Regions from separate parts of the Homo sapiens genome. Here all the other regions are linked to region 2. Evidence: promoter capture Hi-C in 16 types of primary human blood cells and fetal thymus (Javierre and others, 2016). All regions are on one chromosome and are shown on one strand. Each heading gives the region's core, a stretch centred on a gene start or on the middle of the fragment in contact. The rest is flanking DNA. Distances are from core to core; before and after follow the strand shown.

Region 1 (3,040 bases), core at 336-2,835, 250 kb before region 2:
CTGGGATTACAGGCATGCGCCACCACACCCGGCTAATTTTTTTGTATTCTTAGTAGAGATGGGGGTTTCTCTATGTTGGTCAGGCTGGTCTTGAACCCCCAACCTCAGGTGATCCGCCCACCTTGACCTCCCGAAGTTCTGGGATTACAGACGTAAGCCACCGTGCCCAGCCAATGGTTTTTAACATATCCTTTGATTATGAATGTAGGCAGCAAGTAGATGTCCCTGTGATTTTGTCACTAGTAGAAATCACAGGTATTTATGTAACACACTACAGTTATTGTAAACATCTCAAGATATCATCTAAGCTACGAGAACTGTGAAATTAAAGTCATATTAGACCGACCACTAAATCTTATTTAATGTATTAGTAAAAGAGAACGTATGTTACTATATGAGAAATTGTTAATAGTTTGATATCTATTTTTAGTAAAATGACTTTTCATAGTAATCCTAATGCCTTTTTAAAAAAATTATTCTCAGAAGGGGTCCACAGGCTCCACCCAATGCCTGAGTGGTCCCATGGAAGAGAAAGGGTTAAGAAGTCACACCTGGGGAGTGGCTCCCTGCAACCTCTTCCAGGAAGGATCTGTCCTTCCAACAAAGTTGCCCTGGAATTGGGGTGTGCAGCCCTCCTTGAGGGTGGGGGCAGCCCTGCCCTGGGCCCTGGAGATATTCAGACTTTCCGTGATGACTTGTGGAGCACCTGCTTCGGCACAAATCCTGCATTAAATGCAGAGGAAGGAGCTAAAGGGGCTCCAGGGGAGCTGATGGAGACAACCAAAAAAGACCATCCTGAGGCATGGGAGTGGGTGCAGAGGGGGGAAAAGGAGATGGCCAAGCAGAGCCCAGAAGATCTGAAGGAATTGAGGGAAGTGGTAGCTGGACCTGAGAGGGTTTTCAGCTGAACCCTAGAAACATGATATGTGCAAACAAAATGGCTTGAAAATAGCTTCGTGGCCACATAGGAATAAAGGCGGGTGCTGCGTGTCTTGCTCTTTGTGGGTAAAATGTGAGGTTAGGTTAACCTAACAGTCCTCCAGCTAGGGTGACCAACCATCCCAATTTATCAGGAACTGAGAAGGTTTCTCTTGATGCTAAAACCTGGAAAGTAAATCAGAACGAGCAAATCAGAACAAATGTGTCACCCTACTTCCAGCCCATATCAATCTGGAGGCATCTGAGGCCAGAAGTCCTATAGTTCAGGATACAGCCAGCCCAGATTTCTTGTTTCAGGGACCAGAAAACTGAGGACCACAGAGAGGTAAGGACTGACCCAGGTCTCCTGAATAATTGGTATCAAAGCCTGGTCTGGAATTCTGGTCCCATTCCCTTTCCAATGGTAGGTCCTCCCTGGCCCAGACAATGAATTCAGTGGTCTCCTCCCCTTAACCCCAGACACTGGCAGGCTGGCTCCCCCATTCAAGATCCAAAGGGGGCTAAAGGTGGGTCCTCAAGGCAGCGGAAGAGTTCCAACAGACAAAGGAACATCCCTGTGGGGGACGCCAGCCTCCTCTCACTAAACAAGGATAATTAGGTTTTTGTTTTTTGGCAGGGTACCTCCCCTTGACCCTCAAAGTCACAGCGGTGTGTCTAACCTGTCCAGACTGTTTTTGGAGGCAAGAGTGGGGAGTGGAAAAAGGTGGGCTTTTAAGACAAGAGATTGGCTAAGGTTTGTATCTAAGTCACTTTACCTCTCTGAGGCTCTATTTCCTCATCAGGGAAATGGGCATAACTGCTCTCAATGAACAGTTGCTGAATGAATGAATAAAAGAATTAAGAAATGAATGAGAAAATGACTTTTATTCTTCCTGCCCCACTCCCCAGCCATTTCACCTGCTAACAACTCCTCATCCTTCAGGTCCCAGCCTCAAGCACGGAACCTTCTCTTCTCGGAAACTTCTCTTCTCGGAACCTTCTCAAGTACCTGCCAGGTCTGGGTGGAGGGTGCTTCCTCCAGGCTCTGCCAGCACTGCCCACCCTGTGGCAGCCCCAAGTATACGCTCTTGTCATTGCTGGATTTCTCATCTGCATCTCCACCCCTTCTAGCCCAGCCTTCTAACACTTGCTAACCCATATTCTCTATTAGAGCAGAAGCACTTGATCAGATTCACCCTGGAACCCATATCCTGGCATGGTACCTGGCACATAATAGGTGCTCAACAAAGATGAGTTCAGGTGAACAAATGAATGAGCTGTTAGTTACTGGAGAAATTCCTGTAAAGTGGATCATGGCTGCTTAGGAAATGTTATATTTGCAGAACGTAATTGCATTTCTTTTTTTTACTTTATTGAGGAATATTTTACATATTATGTAATTCACCCATGTCAATGGTTTTTAATAAATTTACCAAGTTGTGCAAACAACGCTATAAACCAGTTTTAGAATATTTCATCATCCCCACTCCTACCCCCTGCCCCAGACAACCGCTAATCTGGGATCTGTCTCTATGGAGTTGCCTTTTCTACATATATCAGATAAATGACATTTTACAATATGTGATCTCTTGTGTCTGGCCACTTTCATTGAGCACAATGTCTTTGAGGCTCATCCATGTGGTAGCATGTATCAGTAGTTTGTTCCTCTTTATAAATGATCTCTTTTTAAATTTCAATAGTTTTAATTTTTCCTTTTCTGTACTCAGTTCTTCATCTGGAAATAAGACTATAGGACTATCTGACCTGGGGCCAGGTGCAGTGGCTCACACCTGTAATCCCAACACTTTGGGAGACCGAAGCGAGTGGATCACTTGAGACCAGGAGTTTGAGACCAGCCTGGCCAAAGGCTTAACACCGTCTCTAGTAAAAATGCAAAAAAATTAGCTGGGCATGGTGGCATGTGCCTGTAGTCCCAGCTACTCAGGAGGCTGAGGCACAAGAATCACTTGAACCCCCAGAGGCCAAGATTGCACCACTACACTCCAGGCCAGCCTGGGTGAGAGTGAGACCTGGTATAAAAAAAAGAATATCTGACCTGGTGCAGTGGCTCACACCTATAATCCCAGGACTTTGGGAGGCCGAAGTGGGAGGATCGCTTGAG
Region 2 (3,254 bases), core at 708-3,207:
TACAAAAAGTTAGCTGGGCGTGGTGGCAGGCACCTGTAGTCCCAGCTACTTGGGAGGCTGAGGCAGGAGAATGGTGTGAACCTGGGAGGTGGAGCTTGCAGTGAGCTGAGATGGCGCCACTGCATTCCAGCCTGGGTGACAGAGCAAGAATCCATCTCAAAAAAAAAAAAAAAAAAAAAAAGAGATCTTGCCTTCCAATAAATGCGTTACCAAAGACCCATCAGTTTGGACTTATTTTCTAAGCCATAAAGAGAGATCTTATTAATGTCTACAAATACAACTCTTGATTATTTGTACAAACAGAGGGTATGGCAAAGACCACTACCACATACATGGCAAAATTCAAACCTAGTGATGTATTTGGTTGGAGGGTGTTCCTTAAGTATTACAGCTTTAAAGGTGGCCCCAGAATACAGGATTTATGGAAGGGTGTCAACAAATTATTAATATTTTATAACCTATCCAGCTCATGTCCAGAAAAACATAAAAGCAAATGCTCTAAAAAGACTGGAACGTTACTGATTCTACGTAACATGAGTATGAGTCAGGAAAAATACTGCCAATCCAAATGTTTAAAACAAAAAGCAGCCACGTAATTTGAAAGTAGTATATTTGAAACCTGTTTACATCTTCAGAACATTCCTGGCCTGATGATTAGATAGCAAAATCCGTCTGTAAAGCTGACTGTGAAGTTACCAAACTCAACCATTATTTTATTATAATTTGTTAAAAACTCTGCATCCAAAGGATTACAAGTCTACAACAAGAAAAAGCACAAAAACAATTTGTCAAACCGTGGGCCTCCTTTGAGTAACAAATAGCAATTTTTAACCTCTGGATAGCAGCTAGATATACCCTTGTCATCGTGAAGCTAAAATGACCCAGTTAACAATTGCAGGGAGTTGCTGAAATGAGGTATGGCTAGAAAAATGAAAGTCAGTCTGGCTTTAAAAGCAAAAGTCTACCATTAAACTAATGAAAGACTGCTCTGAGCACAGTATGTCAGGAAAAGGCAGGCACTCTGAGATCACCATCTTTGTACCTACATAACTGTCACTAGCTAAGAATCGCTGTGCAAAAAGACAAAAACACACAAAAGGAAACCAACAGATAGTACCGTTTGTAAAAGAATGTGATGATATTTTAATGCGAGGGGGATGGGAGGCAGCAAGAGAACACACACACCACACATCCTCTGGGAAAATGATCTCTCAGACACACACTGAAATGTTTTTAATCAAAGACCGATACAGTAGGAATGCACAAGGAGTGCAACGTAAAAAGAGGTCATCAATGTAGCTAGTGGCTTCAGTCACAGAAATAGCACGTGCCCCCACTGATTACAGCACCGCGGGGAGACCGTTATTAAATTATACCGTACGGCTCCGCTCCGGCCCAGGCTAGGAGGATGAGTGCGGGCGAGAAATGCAAACTCATCTGTGACTTGACCCAAGGGGCAGCCCCGTGAACATTCCCTTAAGAGGGCGAATGCATCTCACTCTCAACCATGTCCGGCCACGCCCTCCCGCAGGGAGGCCGCTAAAGTTTTGCTCGAGAGGGGAAACTGAGGTAGAGGTGATTTACATGCGTTGGCGGAGGGAAACCCAGGCAAGCCAGTCTCCCCGGGCCCGGGACCCCGAAGCCGTGGCTGTGGCGGGGATCCTCAAGGGGGCAGGGGGCGGCCCGGAAAGCGGGTCCAGACGATCCGGCTCGAAATCCCCTCCCCCCACAACAGCGTCGCCCGCCAGAGCCGCCGCCCGGTACCTCTCGATGACTGAGGCCACCAGCTGCGGCAACTCCTTCATCTCGAAGGCGGAGTAGGACGCGGACAGCAGGGGCCGCACAGCCACCTCCCAGCCCGGGGTCGTGTCCGCCCCCGTTGCCGGGGTCCCCGGCGCCGGAGCCGCTGCCGCCGCCTCTTCGCCGCCGCTCGTCGCCATCTTCCGTCGTACTACTGCGGCTCCCTCCGGGGGCTTGCCACCGGCCCAGCGCCGCCTCCCAGGAGGGGGCGGAAGTGACGCAATCTGTCGCGTCAGACTGCGCGCCGCCGTCATGGGTCAAAAACGCGACGCGCGGAGCGGCCTTTGCTCTCACCGGGGTCGAGCCGCGGCGAGGGAACGGATCGGAGACGCTGCGCCTGCTCAGAAGGTAGCGCAGCGGGGAAAGGCGGGAGAGCGTTAACTTCTGAGCCTGCGCGGTGGGAGTTGCTCAAGCAGGTGGTAGCGACTTGGCTTCCGGGCAGCGGGTAAAGGTGAGTCTGGGGCATGGGTTCAGTGGGCAAGTCTAGGGCAGCAGAGTTGACTACGCCTCGGCGTATAGAATGGCCCTGGCCTGGGACAGCTAAGGACGACAAGAGGAGGCCGAAGCCTAAAACGCTTTCACCTGCTTCTTCCCCTGCCTAGATCCCCCCAATAGTAATACTAAAGAGCGCCATAGTTTACAAAGATTTCTCCCTCTCACAACACCTTTTAATCACTGATCCGTATTCCCTTAGCACTCAAATCTCTTCTGTTTGGATTGCCCTCATTAACAATCTGACCAGCTCGTACAATGCATCCCTCTTTGCAATTTGCCACGTATGCTTACGTGTTCCCCTTTTTTCTACTGGCAAGGAAAGAATGTAAGCTTTTATTCACAGGAGATGTCTGAGACTTTTGCCGGTAAAATGATCTGGCTACAAGGTCTAAGAGGGAAAAGCAGTTTGCTCGAGGAAAGGTATTCGTGCATTAAGGACAGTCCTGTGAGTGAGATATTGGTGGACGGCTTCAAGCTCTAGCCTGTGGCCTACAGCTGGCCTAAATAAGACTGGGAAGGAACTGTGAAGACGGTTTCAAATTCCTAAAGCCCTGAAATTCTCCCCCTAAGTTTAGGAAGAGCTTTTGTTCTTGGTGTGTAACACTGATAAATGAATTGGTACCTAGTGATTAATCTGCACTTTTATTAAGATATGACCTACTTTACCTTTTTTGAGACAGGATCTTGCTCTGTCGCCCAATAGCCCAGGCTGGAGTGCAGTGGCAGAGTTGCAGCTGGCTGCAGCCTCCACCTCCCTGGCTCAAGTGATCTTCCAGCCTCAGCCTCCCCAGTAGCTGAGACTATACAGGTGCAGGCCACCACTCTTAATTTTTTTTGTTTGTTTTTAAGAGACAGGTCTCCCTACGTAGCCCAAGCTGTTTTCGAAGTCCTAGGTTCCTCCCACCTTGGACTCCCAAAGTGCTGGGATTACAGGCTTGACCCACTGCGCCCAGCCTGCA
Region 3 (3,019 bases), core at 148-2,647, 130 kb after region 2:
GCCTCCTGACTCTCCTGACTCCAAGGCCAGTGCTCCCTCCACAGCCGTTTACTGCCCCCAGCTGGGCTCTGGCCTCATGTCAGAGGCCTGCCTCCTGCTCTGTCCGCCGTGGACCTGGAGGGTCCAGAGAGCGCCCGGCTTTTGTTTGGGCTGACACTGCAGAGCTGAGGGCACGAGGTGGGAAGGATGGTGCAGGACACTGGCCACTGGCAGCAGAGCCCTGGCAGAGGACGTCAGAGAGGCTGGGGCCCCCTGAGAACGCCCAGGCTGAGGGCCCTGCCTGCATGTGGCGTCAGGGAGGCTGGGGGCCTGAGAAGGCCCGGACTGAGGGCCCTGCCTGCACGTTGCGCTCTGCTGTCTCGGAGAGCAGGCCAGCCAGAGGCAGCCGGGCTGCCCGGAATGTGGTGTCATGGCTCCCCTAGGCCCAGGCTGGAGGGTGGGGAGATTTTTGAGCGGGGACTGACAAACTGCAGGGCTGAGGAGGCTCCGGGGGCAAGGGCACCAATGGCTGTTAGGGTGAACATGCCCCAGAAAACAAATGGTGCAGATAGGGACCGACAGCTGCTACGGAGAGTGCAGATGACACATCAGGACTTTACTTTCCAAAATCAACATAATGATCATCCCAGAAGAGGGGCACTGCAGCCTACCAATGAGGACACCGAGGCCCAAGACCACACAGCTAGTAACTGGCAGAGCCAGGGTTCAAATCCCTCTGTCTGCTTCTAAAGCTTGTGCTTTCTGGTACATTACCTCAGCCCATTGACGATATCCTTTGTTTTTCCAAAGTAGATCTCGTTCAGCGTACTTCTGATTTTATTTTCCATGTCCTGGAAGGGAGGTCGGTCAGCGCAGTGGCAAAAGGTCAGGAACCCTGAGGCCCACGCCCTCCCTCCACCTGCCAGCCCTGCAGTCCCCAGTGTGGCCACTGGAGGGTGGCACACGCCTGCTCTGGGGCATCAGTGAGCGCGCTCCAGGCTGCCAAGACCCCACCTGCCATCTGTGCTCCCGGCACCTTCCCATCCACAGTCCACAGGCAGGGAGGAAGCCAGTACCCAGGGATTGGCGGCCAGCTCTGCCCATGCCTGGGAGCTGCTCTAAACCACATCACCACCCCTTGGGCTCCCCACTAATTTTGTGAACAATTCTGTGAAACCCGAGAGCACCTCCCTGCCTTCCCAAACAACGTGGTGACAGGAGGGCCAAGGCAGCCGCAACTGAAGCCACACCAGGGCCCACTGGCATTCCTGGGATCTGCTTCCTCTCCCAGCGCAGGGCCCTGTTCACACCCAGGCGATCAGGGGAGACAAGACCTAGTGCGCCCCAGAGCCAGCGCCTGAGCAGTCTTCTGGGAGCCCAGGTCTGGGGGTGGAGCAGGAGGTGGCCCTGAAGCTGGAGCCTGCTGGCATCCAAATCAGAGGCTCCAAAAATATGAGGCCAGGGCAAAATCCAAGAAGCGCTCTGCCGGCTGCGGTGGAGCTGAGAGAAAGCAGCAGAGAAGGAGGCCAGCACAGCGGCTCCGGGGCTGCAGTGTCACTGCTGTGGGTCACTGCAGGAGCCAGCCAGAGCCCAGGTCACTCACCTCTACCAGGCGCCCGATGTTGGCTATGTGTGGGGAGCAGTCACTCACAGTTTCATCCTTCTCCATCTGCAAAAGACAGAAACATTCCAAGTCAGAGAAAGCCAGAGATTTCTGAGAACGGCAGACAGCCCACCCCACCTCCACGGTCTGCAAAGAGCCTACTGTTCCCACCGTGGAGCCAGCTGCAGGTATGACAAGGCCAGTTTTGCAGCCTGGGAACTGAAGCACAAACCGACTTCAGTTTCAGACCATAAAGAGCCCAGAGGGCAGAAGCCCAGAGTCCCACTTCCAAGGGAGAAGATTTTGCTGCTGCCCATGGTAGAGCAGGCAGATGCCCAGAGCCACAGCAGCAGCCCTTGGCAGGCACCAGCTCACCCGAGCCAACTGGAGAAGACTCACTCGGTTTGTCTTCAGGCCTCTACTGGCAGGCCCAGGCCCACGCTGGGCCATCCACCCCAGGTTCAGGGCCTGACACTGCAGGGGAAGCTTCTGTGCTGCTGCTGCGCCCTGGCGCTCCCAAATGGTGGCTTTGGGGTGCCATCTGCTGCAGTCTCGCAGGGAGGGACAGACAACCTCTGACGGAGACTTCAGGCCAGAGGGATTCAGTGGCTCACCCTAGTCATGCAGGTGGCAATGGCAGAGCCTGGGTCAAACCCTTCCTCGCACCAGGGCCTGTTCGTTCTACTCTGCGAGGAGAGTTTGAGCAAGAGAGTCTCAATATAGACTCTGAGGTTATGAGGGGGGCAGCAGCACTCAAGCCCCATCTCCTCTTCCCAAGCCCAGGAAGAGCTGGCTCTGACCCAATCATCTCAACTCGGAGGAGGGAGGAAATGGAGGCAGGTTAGGGTAGAAGGAATTCGGCACTTTCCCCCGAATTTTTTCTTATCTGAAGCCTTATTTCCCTGACAAGAATATAAATTCTTTCAGGAGAGATGTGCCTGCCTCATAACGCACAGGGTACCTGGAAGAGTGCTAGGAACATAAATGCTCAACGTTACTACACTGAAAACAGGAATACGCAGCTACGATGACTAATGTTGTTGAAATAAAATGTGGAAGCTGAAATAAATAATCAAGAAAGAGGAAGAAAAGAACAGCATCAGAAAGGGTAGAGTAGAAACCATGCAAGAAGTGGCCATCAAATTATAATACAAAAATGCAGTACTCTAAGGCTAAGCATTTATTGTTGAGATTCTAAATCTGCTTAGACATTATTTATAATTTTTGAAGCTTTATTAAAATAAAATAAAATTTGTGAGAGAAGCTAAAAAAAAAAAAAAAAAAAAAAAAAAGAAAGGGTAGAGTTCAAAATGAGACCAGGCCCACAGAAGAAAAACCAGCAAAAGGTGGGTTCCTCTCTTTGGAACCAGGAGAACAGGGTGGAGTCTGGGGGGAGATACTGTCTCAGAGGGTACGGGCTCTGTTGCTTCTCACCTA

What was found. The method cuts DNA at HindIII sites, captures the fragments that hold promoters and counts their contacts. A CHiCAGO score of 5 or more calls a contact.
Region 1: a fragment that was not itself captured here is called in contact with the fragment with the promoter of UBR4 in region 2 in 1 of 17 cell types (fetal thymus); the score reaches 5.7 in fetal thymus.
Region 3: a fragment that was not itself captured here is called in contact with the fragment with the promoter of UBR4 in region 2 in 1 of 17 cell types (neutrophils); the score reaches 5.8 in neutrophils.

What each region holds. Positions count from the first base shown.
Region 1 is chr1:18,958,641-18,961,680 of GRCh38, forward strand. No RefSeq gene overlaps it. Among named protein-coding and RNA genes, the nearest start is that of IFFO2, 3.5 kb to the left of the region's middle. The HindIII fragment of the contact is 4,369 bases long and covers 1-3,040 here.
Region 2 is chr1:19,208,309-19,211,562 of GRCh38, forward strand. UBR4 (ubiquitin protein ligase E3 component n-recognin 4) reads right to left here and starts at 1,958. Exons shown (of 106, transcript NM_020765.3): 1 at 1,765-1,958. The coding sequence starts at 1,940. It overlaps EMC1-AS1 (EMC1 antisense RNA 1), which reads left to right and starts at 2,078. Exons shown (of 2, transcript NR_135114.1): 1 at 2,078-2,251. RefSeq lists silencers at 1,628-1,947, 2,973-3,042 and enhancers at 1,998-2,047, 2,298-2,347. The HindIII fragment of the contact is 5,774 bases long and covers 1-2,623 here.
Region 3 is chr1:19,343,605-19,346,623 of GRCh38, forward strand. It overlaps CAPZB (capping actin protein of muscle Z-line subunit beta), which reads right to left. Exons shown (of 9, transcript NM_004930.5): 7 at 1,583-1,648; 8 at 754-830. Among named protein-coding and RNA genes, the nearest start is that of SLC66A1, 33 kb to the left of the region's middle. RefSeq lists an enhancer at 819-868. The HindIII fragment of the contact is 1,337 bases long and covers 730-2,066 here.